5 separate regions of the Homo sapiens genome follow, and all the other regions are linked to region 1. The links are contacts of gene promoters, found by promoter capture Hi-C in human tissues and cell types (Jung and others, 2019). All regions are on one chromosome and are shown on one strand. The core of a region is centred on a gene start or on the middle of the fragment in contact, and the rest is flanking DNA. Distances in the headings are between cores, read along the strand shown.

Evidence for each region. The method cuts DNA at HindIII sites, captures the fragments that hold promoters and counts their contacts. A contact is called where the count stands out against the background at its distance.
Region 2: the fragment with the promoter of NFIC here is called in contact with the fragment with the promoter of CACTIN in region 1 in 3 of the 25 tissues and cell types used here (dorsolateral prefrontal cortex, liver and lymphoblastoid cells).
Region 3: the fragment with the promoter of MAP2K2 here is called in contact with the fragment with the promoter of CACTIN in region 1 in 1 of the 25 tissues and cell types used here (lymphoblastoid cells).
Region 4: the fragment with the promoter of ZBTB7A here is called in contact with the fragment with the promoter of CACTIN in region 1 in 1 of the 25 tissues and cell types used here (dorsolateral prefrontal cortex).
Region 5: a contact is called between a fragment that was not itself captured here and the fragment with the promoter of CACTIN in region 1, in 2 of the 25 tissues and cell types used here (heart right ventricle and stomach).

Annotation. Positions count from the first base shown.
Region 1 is chr19:3,625,360-3,628,059 of GRCh38, reverse strand. CACTIN (cactin, spliceosome C complex subunit) reads left to right here and starts at 1,270. Exons shown (of 10, transcript NM_001080543.2): 1 at 1,270-1,464. The coding sequence starts at 1,298. RefSeq lists enhancers at 937-1,306, 1,196-1,757, 1,758-2,319, 2,320-2,700. The HindIII fragment of the contact is 17,013 bases long and covers 1-2,700 here.
Region 2 is chr19:3,365,226-3,367,925 of GRCh38, reverse strand. It overlaps NFIC (nuclear factor I C), which reads right to left and starts at 1,343. Exons shown (of 11, transcript NM_001245002.2): 1 at 1,260-1,343. The coding sequence starts at 1,289. RefSeq lists silencers at 335-734, 1,025-1,174, 1,625-1,714. The HindIII fragment of the contact is 27,364 bases long and covers 1-2,700 here.
Region 3 is chr19:4,122,828-4,125,527 of GRCh38, reverse strand. MAP2K2 (mitogen-activated protein kinase kinase 2) reads left to right here and starts at 1,406. Exons shown (of 11, transcript NM_030662.4): 1 at 1,406-1,744. The coding sequence starts at 1,653. RefSeq lists silencers at 1,254-1,373, 1,564-1,813. The HindIII fragment of the contact is 9,633 bases long and covers 1-2,700 here.
Region 4 is chr19:4,065,609-4,068,308 of GRCh38, reverse strand. It overlaps ZBTB7A (zinc finger and BTB domain containing 7A), which reads left to right and starts at 1,410. Exons shown (of 3, transcript NM_015898.4): 1 at 1,410-1,627. RefSeq lists silencers at 560-889, 950-1,059, 1,270-1,329, 1,370-1,419, 1,430-1,629 and 1 more. The HindIII fragment of the contact is 23,363 bases long and covers 1-2,700 here.
Region 5 is chr19:3,996,536-3,999,244 of GRCh38, reverse strand. No RefSeq gene overlaps it. Among named protein-coding and RNA genes, the nearest start is that of PIAS4, 9.8 kb to the left of the region's middle. RefSeq lists an enhancer at 1-406. The HindIII fragment of the contact is 5,265 bases long and covers 1-2,709 here.

The sequences.
Region 1 (2,700 bases), core at 21-2,520:
TTCTTTTTTTTTTTGAGACGGAGTCTTGCTCTATCGCCGAGGCCATAGCGCAGTGGCACGATCTCGGCTCACTGCGACCTCCGCCTCCCAGGTTCAAGCAATTCTCCCTGCCTCAACCTCCCAAGTAGCTGGGATCACAGGTGCATGCCACCACACCCGGCTAATTTTTGTATTATTTAGTAGAGATAGGGTTTCACCATATTGGCCAGGCTGGTCTTGAACTCCCGACCTCAGGTGATCCGCCCGCCTCGGCCTCTCAAAGTGCTGGGGTTACAGGCGTGAGCCACCGTGCCCGGCCAAGATAAATATTTTAAAAGTTAGCTTAAATTACTATCATCCTCCATAAACAGGCCTTCCCAGCCCCGAGTGGTTAGAACTGCACGGGGTGGTGGTAGCAGCCACCATGGGCTAGGGGAGCTCAGGATGGGACATCAGCGTCTTCTAGGTCTCTGGCCTCCAGCCTTGCCCCTGAAGTCCGTCCTCCCACGCCAAACTTGTTTCAACAGCAAGTCCCCCAAACCCTGCTCACAACCCTCCCACGGGTCCCCAGCACCCACACCACAAAGCTGGGCAGCCTGGGTTGAGAAGGCAAGTGTTAAGAGTGACTTTCCCTCTCTGAGCCTCAGTTTCCCCGTCTCTAAAATGGGTTGATGGGGGAATACAGGGAGTTATCAAAGTTTTTGTTTTTTTTTAAAGCTTAACTCCCAAAATACATAGGTGTTCATTGGCAGGTGGTGGAGCATAACGATGACTCTCATAAGAAGGCTTTTCAGTTTCTGTCCCCGCGCCCGCCCTCTGCCCTCTGGAGCTGCCTGGCACCTAACACCTTCCCGGTTCCTCGCCTTTCGGGGACCTCGCTCCCCGGACACGCCTCTCCTCGGCCACGCCCCTGGCCACGCCAATGAAGCGCTACTTCCGACCTAGACCCGCTTCTTATTGGTCTCGCCTCGGCAGGCCCCTCCCTGCACAAGGTTCCTAGTTTGCCCTTGCCCCGCCCACAGTTTCTCAGGCCCCCTGAGGCGTGGGGACCCGCCTAGGGCTGCCTCCAGCACTGCCTGAAAGGAGACTCCGCCACCCTGGAGGCAACAATCCCACTGGAGTCAATCACGCGGTCCACATTTGCAGACGTAGTGGAAAGTCTGGGGTGTCGGAGTCCTTGCGGGCTGGGGCGACGGGATGGGTTGCTCTTTCCCGGCTCAGGCGCAAACGGGGCAGCCTGGAGAGCGCCGTGGGCGAGGAAGGCCCCCAGCGCAGGCTTCGGCTATTGGTGTTGGTGCCGCGGCCACTGGCCCAGCCGATGGGTCGGGACACACGCTCGCGCTCGCGGTCCGCGGGTCGCCGGGGCCGAAGGCGGCAGAGTCAGAGCGGGAGCCGAAGTCGGAGCAGGAGCCATGGGCGGCGAAACCGACGGCGCCGGGAGGACGAGGGACGGCGCAGACGGAGGCGGCGGAGCCGGGAGCGCAGGTGGGGTCGCTGCGGGAGCAGCGCTGGGGATCCGGCTCCTACCTCAGGAGCGCCCGACCGAGGGTTGGAGATCCCGGGGAACCGGGAAACCCCCGACTTACTCGGGGAGGGCTTCCTAGAGAAGGGGACAATTGACCACCGGTTGGAATTAACCTGGCAGCGGAAGGAAGGCGAGAGGCGTTCCAGGCAGGGGACCGGGCGGTTGGAGGGACAGCCCGGAGCCGGGTGAGCGAGGCGGCGGGGAGGTAACGAGAGATCAGATCATATCATATCGAGCCCTGTGTGCTCAGCACATTAGATCTTGGCTATTAGTCGGAGGGAAATGGAGAGTCTTGAGAGGAGTTTGGGTAGGGGAGTGACGTGGACTGACTTAACTCTGCATACTTTCTGGCTTTGAGGTGGAGAAGGGATGGAGCGGGGTAGGCAGGAGCGGCATCAGAGTAGGACGGCACAATTGTCCAGACAGTAGATGATGGCAGTCTCGATGGGAGGGAGGCTGTAGTCAACCACAGCGGGCAAAGTGCGTAGATTTCAGAGGGATTCTGGAAGTAGAGGAGACAACATTTGCTAATGGAGGTGGGCTGTGGGAGGGAAAAAGACTCGGTGTCAGCTGGCAGGACTCACAGCTGATTCCTAGTGCCTGAATCTCAGCTTCCCCATGGTCCTTTTCTTCTGGAGATGGGGCACTTGGTCGGATTTGCCTTGAGCCGGCTCCAGTACAGAGAAACCAAAATGGGGACAGGGACTGATTCCCAGACCGGGGCCCCAGTGCTGGCTCAGCCCCTTCGTGGCTGACACTCAGGCCAGTCTTGCCCCGCTCTGGGCCAAGTTCACTCATCGGTTGTTGGTTTTTTTGTTTGTTTGTTTTTGAGACGGAGTCTTGCTCTGTCGCCCAGGCTGGGGTGCAGTGGCACGATCTCGGCTGTTACCTCTGCCTCCTGGGTTCAAGCGATTCTTCAGCCTCAGCCTCCCCGGTAGCTGGGGTTACAGGTGCTTGTTGCCACACCCAGCTAATTTTTGAATTTTTTCGTAGAGCTGGGATTTCTCCATATTGGCCAGGCAGGTCTTGAACTCCTGGCCTCAAGTGATCTGCCCGCCTCGGCCTCCCAAAGTGCTGGGATTACAGGCGTGAGCCACCGCGCCTGCCCATAAGTCTTGTTAATGTCATCTTTGTGTTTTTTCGCCTACCATTTTCTGGTATTGGAATTATTCACAATAATTTGCCACTCTAGATAT
Region 2 (2,700 bases), core at 94-2,593, 260 kb after region 1:
ACCCTACCAAGGAGCATGCCTGGCGTGGGGGGTCCCTCACTGCACCATGCCCTGGAGCGGAAGCCGGGGACTCATATACTCCCCACACAGTGCTTCTTAAGACGGGCCTGGCCCTCGCTGGAATCGCACCCCCCACGTGCCGGGACTTTACAGTTTGCCCGCCATACTGTCCCCTCTCCAGAACCGGCCTTAGCCGCACCTCACTTCAGGGGAAACTGAGGCCAGAACCTCTCCAGCCTAAAGACACACTGCGTAAGGAGGAAAGCAGCGGTCTAGAAAACGGAACTTGCAGACCTCGGGGTCCCCGGGAGCCTGGGCTGGAAGGAGTCCCCGGGGGGAGCCGCCCCCTCCCCACACACCCCCTCGGCCATTGCACAAGGCTCGGCCCCGGGGCAGTCTGGGAGTGCGGCCAGGGGTGAGAGGCTACGGGAGGGGGAGGGGGAGGGGGAGGGGACGGGGCAGGTGCCGGGCTGGCGAGGGCGTCCGCAGCGCCGCAGTGCCCGGGCCAGACCCGGAGCGCCGGGCCTCCCGCTCCTCCCGGCGGCGGCTCCAGAATCCAGAATCCAGAATCCAGAATCGATGCAGCGAAAATACCGGGACGGTGCTGGGGGGCTTGCAAAGGAGGGGGGACCCAGCCGGGCCGCCGGAGCACCCTTCCCCCTCCTGGGCCTCCAACTTCTCCTGCCCCCTCCCCCTCCATGCACACGTGGGCCAATAACGAGGGAAAGGCGACCGAGGGCCAGGGCGGCCCGCACAACCTTGGTGGGGGGACACGGGGAAAACACATGAGAGGTCCCTTTCTCTCCAGCTGGGGAGACCCAGGGTCCAATCACGACCCCCTAGATTCCTCTCAGAGGCAGGCGGGGGGCTTCCCGCAGAGCCCTTGCTGGAGGGGGGCCAGCCCCCACCCCGACCTTTCCGAGTGTCGGGGCGGGGGTGCGGAGTGCGTCGGTGTGTGGGGGGGGGACGCAAATCTGCAGACCAAGCCCCACATCCGGGAGAGGTCCCGAGAGTCGGGGTTGGGGGTGCTGGGCGGGAGTCCCGCGTAGGGGGTCCGCGGTAGGTAAGGGTGTGGGGGGGGTACCCCAGCCTGACCCATCCCCCCACCGGACCCCAGCCCTCGGCGCGGGGGGCATCCCGGGCAGGGATGGCGGGAGGGACGCGCGCCTTTTTCGTCCCGCCTCCTCCTGCTTCAAAACTCCGGGGCTGGGATGCGGGGGGCGCGGGGGCGCCGGCGGGGGGCCGGGCGAGGACCGTACCTGGGTGAGGCAGAGCGGGGACGAATACATCCCGGGCGCGGCGGGAGGCGCAGGGCCGGCCGGAGCGGGCGCGCTGAACTTACTGAGTCATTTTTCCAAACCACCCCCCCGCCCCCCCCAACCCCCCCCCCCGCCCCGCGGCCGGCGCGCTCTCCTCGCCGCCTCCTCCCTCGGTCTCCCTCCTCCTCCCTCCTGCTCTCCCTCTCTCGCGCCGCCCGCCTCGCTCTCTGTCCCTCTCTCCCTCCGTCTCTCTCTTCCTCTCTCCCCCGTCTCTGTCTCTCTGTCTCTCTCTCTACCCTCTGACACCCTCCCCCTCCCACCCCGAACCTCCCACTTCTCAACACCCAACTTTCAAAGAAACGAGGGAAAAAAGGGCGCGAGCGAGAAAGGAGAGCCTCCCCCGACGTCTCAGGACCCCCCCGCTCCTCCCGTATTTACGCAATGCCCCAGGGCACTAGACCAGGACCCCAGGACTGCAGGGCGACCCCAATTCGGATCAAGCGGAGAGGGGGGACAGGGTTGTTTCTGGACATTGAGGGGCCAGGGGTGGATTTTTAAGGCCCCCCCTCCCCACCCCCCCATCACCCCCGAGCTGGCCGGGAAGTTGGAGGAAAGAGCCAGGGGGGAGGGAAGGAATGAAGAAGTGACGTGCGCAGAGGCCGGCCAGCGCGCCTCTTTCCCCTTAAAGATGTACGACCCTGGGTGCACGGTGAGCTGGTCCCACAGCACCCTGGCTCCCTTCTCCCCCCAGAGCCAGGCAGGGGCTGCGGGTCCCCAGCTAGAGGGGCTTGTGTGCAGCTGTCCCTTCCTTGGCCAGAAGGGCCCAGGCTAACACGGGAGGCTCCAGAATTTGCTCTCTTCACCCAGCACCCAAGGGGCAGGGGAGGGGTGGCCTCGCCTGTGTGTCTCTCCAGCACCCCAGGAGGACGGTGTCCAGGCGGGATCTCCAGCTGGCCAGATAAACCCTTGCAGCCTCCCCCTGGGTATCCAATAATTTCCACCTGCCTCAGGGGTGTGCCCTTTTCACAGATCTCAAGACTGAGGTATGGCAAGTGTGGCTTGGAGCCAGGCCATCTGGACCTGGAGCCCACATTCTGTTCTCCTTCTAGACGTAACAGGGCAGAGACCTGGCCTGCCTCCGTCTGAGCCCCCAGGGCATCTGATGACAGGGCCCCAACCCTCCCCCGGTTCACTCCCTGGATCCTCCCAGGCTAGCTCAGAGGCTGCTGTGTCTCTCATTCCCATCCCAAGGGTTCTCCCCTATAAAGTGGCTTAAAGATGCCCATCCTGTGGGATTGCTGGGGATAAGGACAATGACCTTAGCAGAGCCTTGACCTTGGGTCAAATGTTCACTAAAGACACATTCTTAGAAAGCTTGGCCATTTCACCTCATCTCTCTGAGCTTCCCAAGGACAAATGATACCCTCTCACCAAGCTGGGG
Region 3 (2,700 bases), core at 157-2,656, 500 kb before region 1:
CAAACAGATATTTGTACATCTGTGTTCATAGCGGCACGATTCACCGAAGTGTCTAGTGGCAGATAAATGGATAAGCAAAATATAGTCCATGCACACAATAGAATATTATTCAGCCTTAAAAAGGAGGAAAATCCTGACTGGGTGCGGTGGCTCACGCCTGTAATCCCAGCACTTTGGGAGATCGAGGCGGGTGGATCACGAGGTCAGGAGATGGAGACCATCCTGGCTAACACGGTGAAACCCCGTCTCTACTAAAAATACAAAAAAATTAGCCGGGCATGGTGGTGGGCACCTGTAGTCCCAGCTACTCGGGAGGCTGAGGCAGGAGAATGGCGTGAACCCGGGAGGCAGAGTTTGCAGTGGGCCGAGATCGCACCACTGCACTCCAGCCTGGGTGACAGAGCGAGACTCCGTCTCAAAAAAAAAAAAAGGGAAATTTTTCTTTTTTTTTTTTTTTCTGCTCTTTTTTGGAGCAGGGCTACCCGATTGGAAGTATGCCCGGAGTAGTCAAGTGGGTAAATTCTAACACAGGTTACAACGTGGATCTAACACAGCTACAACAGGCACCTTGAGGACGTGGCCCTCAGTGAAATATGCCAGCCACAAAGGGACAAAACCTGTGTGATCCTACTCATATGAAGTCCCTAGAATCATCAGATTCACAGGAAGTACGACGTTGGGTTCCAGGGGCTGGGGAGGGGGATAGGGAGTGAGGTTTCATAGGGGACAGTGTTTCAGTTTCGGAAGATGAGAAAATTCTGGAGATGGTGGTGGTGGTGGTTGCTTAATGCCGCTGAGCTGTGCATTTAGAAATGGTTAAAATGACAAGTTTTATGTTATGTGTATTTTATAATAAAAATGTTTCAACATGCGCATAGTAATATATGCAATTTTATTTGTCAATTAAAATAAATTTTAAAAATGTTTTAGAGTGGCCTTGTTCTGATGAAGGAGGGGGAGTAACTGACACTCTAAGGCGGTGGGGGCTAGGGGCGTGTGTCCACGCTTGCCAAAAAGATTAAATGGACTCTGGGTGGGTCTCGTCCACTGTTCTGGGGTCTTACGGGTTCTCTCAGCCCCAGCCTGGGGCACCACAGGCTCTCAGGAGTCTGGCTACCCTGCCCACCTGTGCACGACCATCACCCCAGCCTTCATCCCTCCGTCTCCTCCCCTGCTCCCGCGCCTCATGCCCCAAGCGCTTGGGCACACGCGCCGTGGTAAGGCAAGCGAGGGCGCCCGGTCCCGGCACCGCCTCGCGTCGGTCTCCGCCCCTTTCCCCTCCGAAAGGCGGCCTTGTGCTGCTGCGCAGGCGCGGCGGCTGGGGGTGGGGTCCATCGCGGCTCCCGATCCCGTTATCGCGAGAAGCCGGTCCGCGATCTTGTGGCCGCCCCTCCCCTCCCCCTGCCTCTCGGACTCGGGCTGCGGCGTCAGCCTTCTTCGGGCCTCGGCAGCGGTAGCGGCTCGCTCGCCTCAGCCCCAGCGCCCCTCGGCTACCCTCGGCCCAGGCCCGCAGCGCCGCCCGCCCTCGGCCGCCCCGACGCCGGCCTGGGCCGCGGCCGCAGCCCCGGGCTCGCGTAGGCGCCGACCGCTCCCGGCCCGCCCCCTATGGGCCCCGGCTAGAGGCGCCGCCGCCGCCGGCCCGCGGAGCCCCGATGCTGGCCCGGAGGAAGCCGGTGCTGCCGGCGCTCACCATCAACCCTACCATCGCCGAGGGCCCATCCCCTACCAGCGAGGGCGCCTCCGAGTGAGTGGGCAGGGGTCAGCCGGAGGCTTGGGGTGCACGGGGCAGGGAGCCCTCGGGGAAGGACGGGGCGAGGGGACGGGGGTTCGCGAGGAGTGCACGAGGCAGGGGGGTCACGGGGGAGGACGGGGTGAGTGGTGCACGGGGCAGGGGGTTCTCGAGGGGAGGACAGGGCAGGGGACCCTCGGGGGAGGACGGGGCAGGGGGCCCTCGGGGGAGGACGGGGCAGGGGGCCCTCGGAGGACGGGGCGAAGGGTGCACGGGGCAGGGGGGTCTTTGAGCAGTGAGATTGGGCGAGGGGAGGTCCTTGTGGTGGAAAAGATGGGGTGTGGGGTTCCTGAAGAGTGGAATTGGGATAACGGGAGTCTCTGAGTAGTGAAGTTGGGGTGAAGGATGTCTCTAAGAGGAGAGGATGGGGACAGGGGTCCCTGAGCAGCGAGGTTGAGTGAGGGGAGGTCCCTGCAGTGCAGAAGATGGGGTGTGGGGCTTCTGAAAAGTGAAGCTGGGGTGAGGGGAGTCCCTCAGTAGGAAAATCGGAATGAGGGGTGTCCCCAAGGAGAGAACAGGATGAGGCTCCCCAAGCAGTGAGATCGGGGTGAGGGGTATCTCTAAGAGGAGAGAACACAGTGTGGGGTCCTTGAGTAGTGAAATGAGGGTGAAGAGTTCCTAAGAGGAAAGGACGGAGTAAAGGTTGCCGTAGTCATGAGATGAGGGTGAGGGGAGACCCTGAGTAGGGAAATCGGGGTGCAGGGCATTCCTGAGAGGAGAGGATGGGGTGTGGGGAGGTCAGGCAGCCCCTGAGGAGGAAATCTGGGCAAGGGGGCTCCAGAGGGGAGAGGATGGGGTGAGGGGTCCCTGAGTAATGAGACTGAGATGGGGTAGGGTCCCTGGTAGGAAAAGACGGGGTAAGGGTCCCTCAATAATGAGATAGGGCCAAGGGAGGTCCCTGTGGGAAAAGA
Region 4 (2,700 bases), core at 161-2,660, 440 kb before region 1:
TTAATAAATTGTGCGAAGAAGCCATAAACTGTGTCTCTCGCAGGAGAGGCTTTGAAGTCAGAGGACAGGCTGGGTACACTACACCCAGGCCGGTGGTGGTTCCCGCTGTCAGGTGGTGTTGGTACTAAGAATGCCAGATAATAATAAAACATAATAATGACCCTGGGATTAGGTGTTAGAATGAAGGCACAGTGAGCCCCGGAACAGGGTCACCCACTGGATAAGCGCTCACTAAACGGCAGCTAAAGCAGCTGTCAGTACTCTCTCTGTCTGGAGGAATGAGGAAGGGGAAACTGAGTCCTGGAGCCCTCCCCCCCCCCCCCAGGCGCGCGGTCGCACCAGCCAGCCCTCCCCGGGCCGGGCCAGGACGTTCTCACCACTCGTGCCCTGCTCCCCCTTCCCTGTCCCCCGCCGGACCTCTCCCACGACCGGGGAGGAAGTGGGAGAAACGGACAGGGGAAAAAAAAAAGTCGCGCTGAACCAACGCCTCCCCACTCCCCACCTCCGCCCCTCGCGAGCCATGCAGACCCCCTTGTGCCAAGGAGCGGCCCGCGCGGACCAGGCGTCCAGGGCCCGGTCCCCGTCCCGCCCCGCGGCCCGCAGCCGGGTGGGGGAACTCGCGAAGCCGGGAAAACAACCGCCCTCCCCGCCCCTCGCCAACCCCTTCCCCCGCTGACGCCCCTAGCGCAGCGGGGTGGAGGCGACTCCTTTATATAATCGCGGGAGGGCAGGTTGGTGGTTTCATTTAGGGACCCGGGAGCCCCGCGGACCCGGGCTGTCCTTGGCAAGGCCACCCCCCGGGGTCCCTGGCGCGGCAAGTCCCACTGAGGCCCGGGGAGGCCCAGGGCCTGGCCTTGCGGGGGGATCCCCACCGCCTCACCCCCAACCCACCCCCGGCAGCCCAGGCCGCGCGACCCACACGCCCGCGTCGCTCCTCGCTGTGCGCACCGCGCTCCCCGCCCCCGCTGCCATCCTGCCACGCCCCGGGCGTCGGGGGCACAGCCCGCGCCCCCCCGCACCCCGCCCCTGCGCAGAGGCTGGGGGCCTGTTTATCTGGAGGCCCCCACCCCCCCTCCACCCCGGGGGGCCCGCTCCCCCCGCGCCCCGGGGAGCTCTGGGGCCAGATAAGCTGGCAAGCTGGCACGGCGCCGCGCGGCGGGGCGGAGAGGTCAGAGGCGGGGGGGCGCGCCGGGGCGGGCCGGACCCCCCCCCCCGACTTGACAAAACCTAATAACAGCCCGGTCTCCCCGGCGCAGCGGGCGAAGCCCCACGGGAGGGCAGAGACGTGGCAAGAGGGGACCTGCCGAGCCTGTTCTGGCCTCCGAGGCCAGGCTGGGGGGGGCGGGCTGGGCGTGGGGGGGCCGGCGGCTGCGGCACCTTTAAGACAAGGGAGGACCCCTCTTGCCCTCGGAGAAACCAGGAAGGGAGTCGCGAGCATCATACGGGGCTTTGGCTGTACTGTACAGTTACTGTAGGGGCAGTGACGCCGCCGCCGCCGCGCGAGGGAGCGACCAGGGCAGCGCGACGCGGGCAGAGCGAGCGCCGCGGACCCCGGAGGCGAGCGGCCGAGGGAGCCCAGTCCCAACTTCGGGCCCCGGCCCCGCGCGCCCCGGCCCGGCCCCGCGAGGTAAGTCAGCGCCCGGCGCGGCCCCCGGCACGGGGTGCAGGGCGGGGACGGGCGGGGGTCGCTGCGGCCACCGCTGCCCCCTCGGGAAGGGGAGATCCGGGGAGCCGGGGACGTTCCCCCAAGTTTCAGAGGAAGGGGTGGTTGGCAGCTGCCCGGAGGCTGGAGGCGCCCTGGATCCCGAGCGCGGGGAGGGGGCGCCGCCCGGGAAGGGGGGATTGGGGGCTAAGTGCATGAGCTTGTGCGCCAGCCCCCCCCAACCCGGGTGCATGGCTTTTCGGGGCTCCCAGGCGCGCGGGGAGCGGGGGAGGGGAAGCAGGGCTGCATTGAGGGTGGGGGGAGCCGGCGTGGGGAGATAGGGGGGCGCGTCGCCTGCTAAGTTTCCAGCTGAAGACGAGGGGCGCTCTCGCCCCCCGGGGGCCTATTCGGTGCTGCGTGCATACGTTGGAGTTGGCCAGGATTGAGCTCCATGGGGGATGGGGGGGAGGGGGCTGAAAAAACAGGGAGGGGGGCTTCGGAAAGGAGGGGGAAGGGGTGGGGTGTCCGGGTGGGCGGGCAGGGCCGCAGGGACCTCTGGGCTTCGTAGTCCCTCCGCCGTTTGCAGCCGGCAGGTGGCAAGCGGCTTGGACTACAAGTCCCAGGGTGCCCCGCGCCGACAGCCCGCCGCGGCCTGCGGGTAGGGGCGGTGCGGAGGAGGGGCGGTGAGCGGCGGGCCGGAGAGCCAATGGGCGCGGGCCGATCGCGCGGCGCGGCGCGGGGGCGGGGCCAGCCCGCCAGGGGGCGGGGCCTGGAGCCGGGCTCCCCTCGCCGGGGGCCGGTGGCGGTCCCGGCTTCCGGCTGCGCGGCCCGCGGGCCGGCCCCCTCCCCGCCCCGGGGCCCCTCCCCGCCTGGTTGTGTAACCGTCCCCAGCCCCCCTCCCCTCGGCCCCCCGCCCGTGGGGGGGGGGTCACCCTCCCCGCGCTCCCCGGGGAGGGCGGCGGCCCGGGCGGCCGCGCGGTGCAGGCGAGCCCGGGGATGCGCGGCCTAGCGCAGGCCGGGCCCGGGCGTGGGGGAGGCGGGCGGGCGGACCCAGATCC
Region 5 (2,709 bases), core at 176-2,675, 370 kb before region 1:
CCTTCTAGCATCTGTTTAACAAAGCACATCTTGCACCGCCCTTAATCCATTTAACCCTGAGTGGACACAGCACATGTTTCAGCACGGGGTTGGGGGTAAGGTTATAGATTAACAGCATCCCAAGGCAGAAGAATTTTTCTCAGTACAGAACAAAATGGAGTCTCCTATGTCCACTTCTTTCCACACAGACAGCGTAACAATCTGACCTCTCTTTCTTTTCCCCACATTTCCCCCTTTTTCTATTCGACAAAACCGCCATCGTCATCATGGTCTGCTCTCAATGAGCTGCTGGGTACACCTCCCAGACGGGGTGGCGGCCGGGCAGAGGGGCTCCTCACTTCCCAGACGGGGCGGCCGGGCAGAGACGCCCCCCACCTCTCGGACGGGGCGGCTGGCCGGGCGGGGGCTGCCCCCCACCTCCCTTCCGGACGGGGCAGCTGGCCGGGCGGGGGCTGCCCCCGGCCAGGCTGGTCTTGAACTCCTGACCTCGAGTGATCTGCCCTCCTGGACCTCCCAAAATGCTGGGATTACGGGTGTGAACCACTGAGCCAGGCCTGTATGCTAGTAGAACTTCATAAACACAGAAATTTCAATCTTACGTATTTTCACATGTCATGTTATTATTATGCTTTTGTTTGAACATTTAAAAGAGAAAGAAGGCCGGGTGCTGTGGGTCGGGTGTGTAATCCCAGAACTTTTGGAGATCCAGGCAGGAGGACTGCTTGAACACAGGATTTCTACACCAGACTGAGCAACATAATGAGATCCTCTCTCTGCAAAAAATAAAAAATTAAGTAGGCATGGTGGTGCACGCCTACAGTCTTACCTACTCAGGTGGATGGCTTGAGCCCAGGAGTTCCAGGCAGCAGTGAACCGTGATTGTGTCACTGCACTCCAGCCTGGGTGACAGAGAGAGACTCTGTCTCAAAAGTAATAATAATAATAATAATAATAATAATACGCTGGGCGCAGTGGCTCATGCCTGTAATCCCAGCACTTTGGGAGGCCGAGGCGGGCAGATCACGAGATCAGGAGATCGAGACCATCCTGGCTAACACGGTGAAACCCCGTCTCTACTAAAAATACAAAAAATTAGCCGGGCATGGTGGCGGGCGCCTGTAGTCCCAGCTACTCGGGAGGCTGAGGCAGGAAAACGGCGTGAACCCGGGAGGCGGAGCTTGCAGTGAGCCGAGATTGTGCCACTGAACTCCAGCCTGGTTACAGAGCGAGACTCAAAAAAAAAAAAAAAAAAAGATTAGGGCTGAGGGCTGTAGCTTGCTAGTCTTTGTTAGAGATGCTCAGACACAGTGGTGACCACAACAGGCAAAATTCCCTGTCCTCGTGGAACTGGCATTCCAGGAGGGAGATCAACAACAAACAAAATCAAAAGCTAATTAAAGGTCCCGGCGTGGTGGGTCACGCCTGTAATCCCAGCACTTTGGGAGGCTGACATGGGCGGATCACCTGAGGCCCAGAGTTCGAGACCAGCCTGGCCAAGATGGTGAAAACCCATCTCTACCAAAAATAAAAATTTAGCTGGGCGTGGTGGCACACGCCTGTAGTCCCAGCTACTTGGGAGGCTGAGGCAGGAGAGTCACTTGAACCCGGAAGGTGGAGCTTGCAGTGAGCCGAGATGGCACCACTGTACTCCAGCCTGGGCAACAGAGGGAGACTCCATCTCAAAAAAAAAAAAAAAGGCTAAATACAGAACATGTTCAGACACTGATGGGAGGTAGACAGACAAGAAAGAGGAGAGGGAGGCTATGGAAAATCCCCACACGACCAATTTAAAGCTTTACAGCCTGTTTTAGGACAGAATTCATCAGTTCTAAATCAGATCCTTTGCAATTCTGACAAAATTCACAAACCACCTCCACTGTTATGTAAGATACATAGAGATAGATGGAGAGAGGTAGATATAGATACAGATAGTTACTCCCGTTTTGCACTTAAGTAAATGGAGTTGTTTCCTGGGCAAAAATACCTATGAGCTGGGCGCGGTAGCTCAAGCTTGTAATCCCAGCACTTTAGGAGGCCGAGGCGGGTGGATCATGAGGTCAGGAGTTTGAGACCAGCCTGGCCAACATGGTGAAACCCTGTCTCTACTAGAAATACAAAAAAAATTACTGGGGCGTGGTGGCACGCACCTGTAATCCCAGCTACTCAGGATGCTGAGGCAGGAGAATCTCTTGAACCTGGGAGACAGAGGTTGCAGTGAGCCGAGATGAGGACACTGCACTCCAGCCTCGGTGACAGAAGGAGACTCCATCTTTACCAAAAAAAAAAAGTATCAAATTGTGAATTTGGTGTTAGCTGAATATTAAAAGCATCTTAAATTTAAATAAAGTTGTGTGCACGTTTGTATATATGTATTTCAAAACATAGCAATGTATTATCACAATTGATTGCATTTTCTGGCTCTAAAACAGATTGTAGGCCAGGCACAGTGGCTCACTCCTGTAATCCCAGCATTTTGGGAGGCCGAGGCAGGAGGATCACCTGAGGTCAGAAGTTTGAGACCAGCCCACGCAACATGGTGAAACCCCTGTCTCCACTAAAAATACAAAAATTAGCCGGGCATAGTGGCACACACCTGTAATTCCAGCTACTCAGGAGGCTGAGACAGGAGAATCGCTTTAACCCGAGAGGCAGAGGTTGCAGTGAGCTGAGATCATGCTGCTGCACTCCAGCCTGGGCAACACGCGAGAC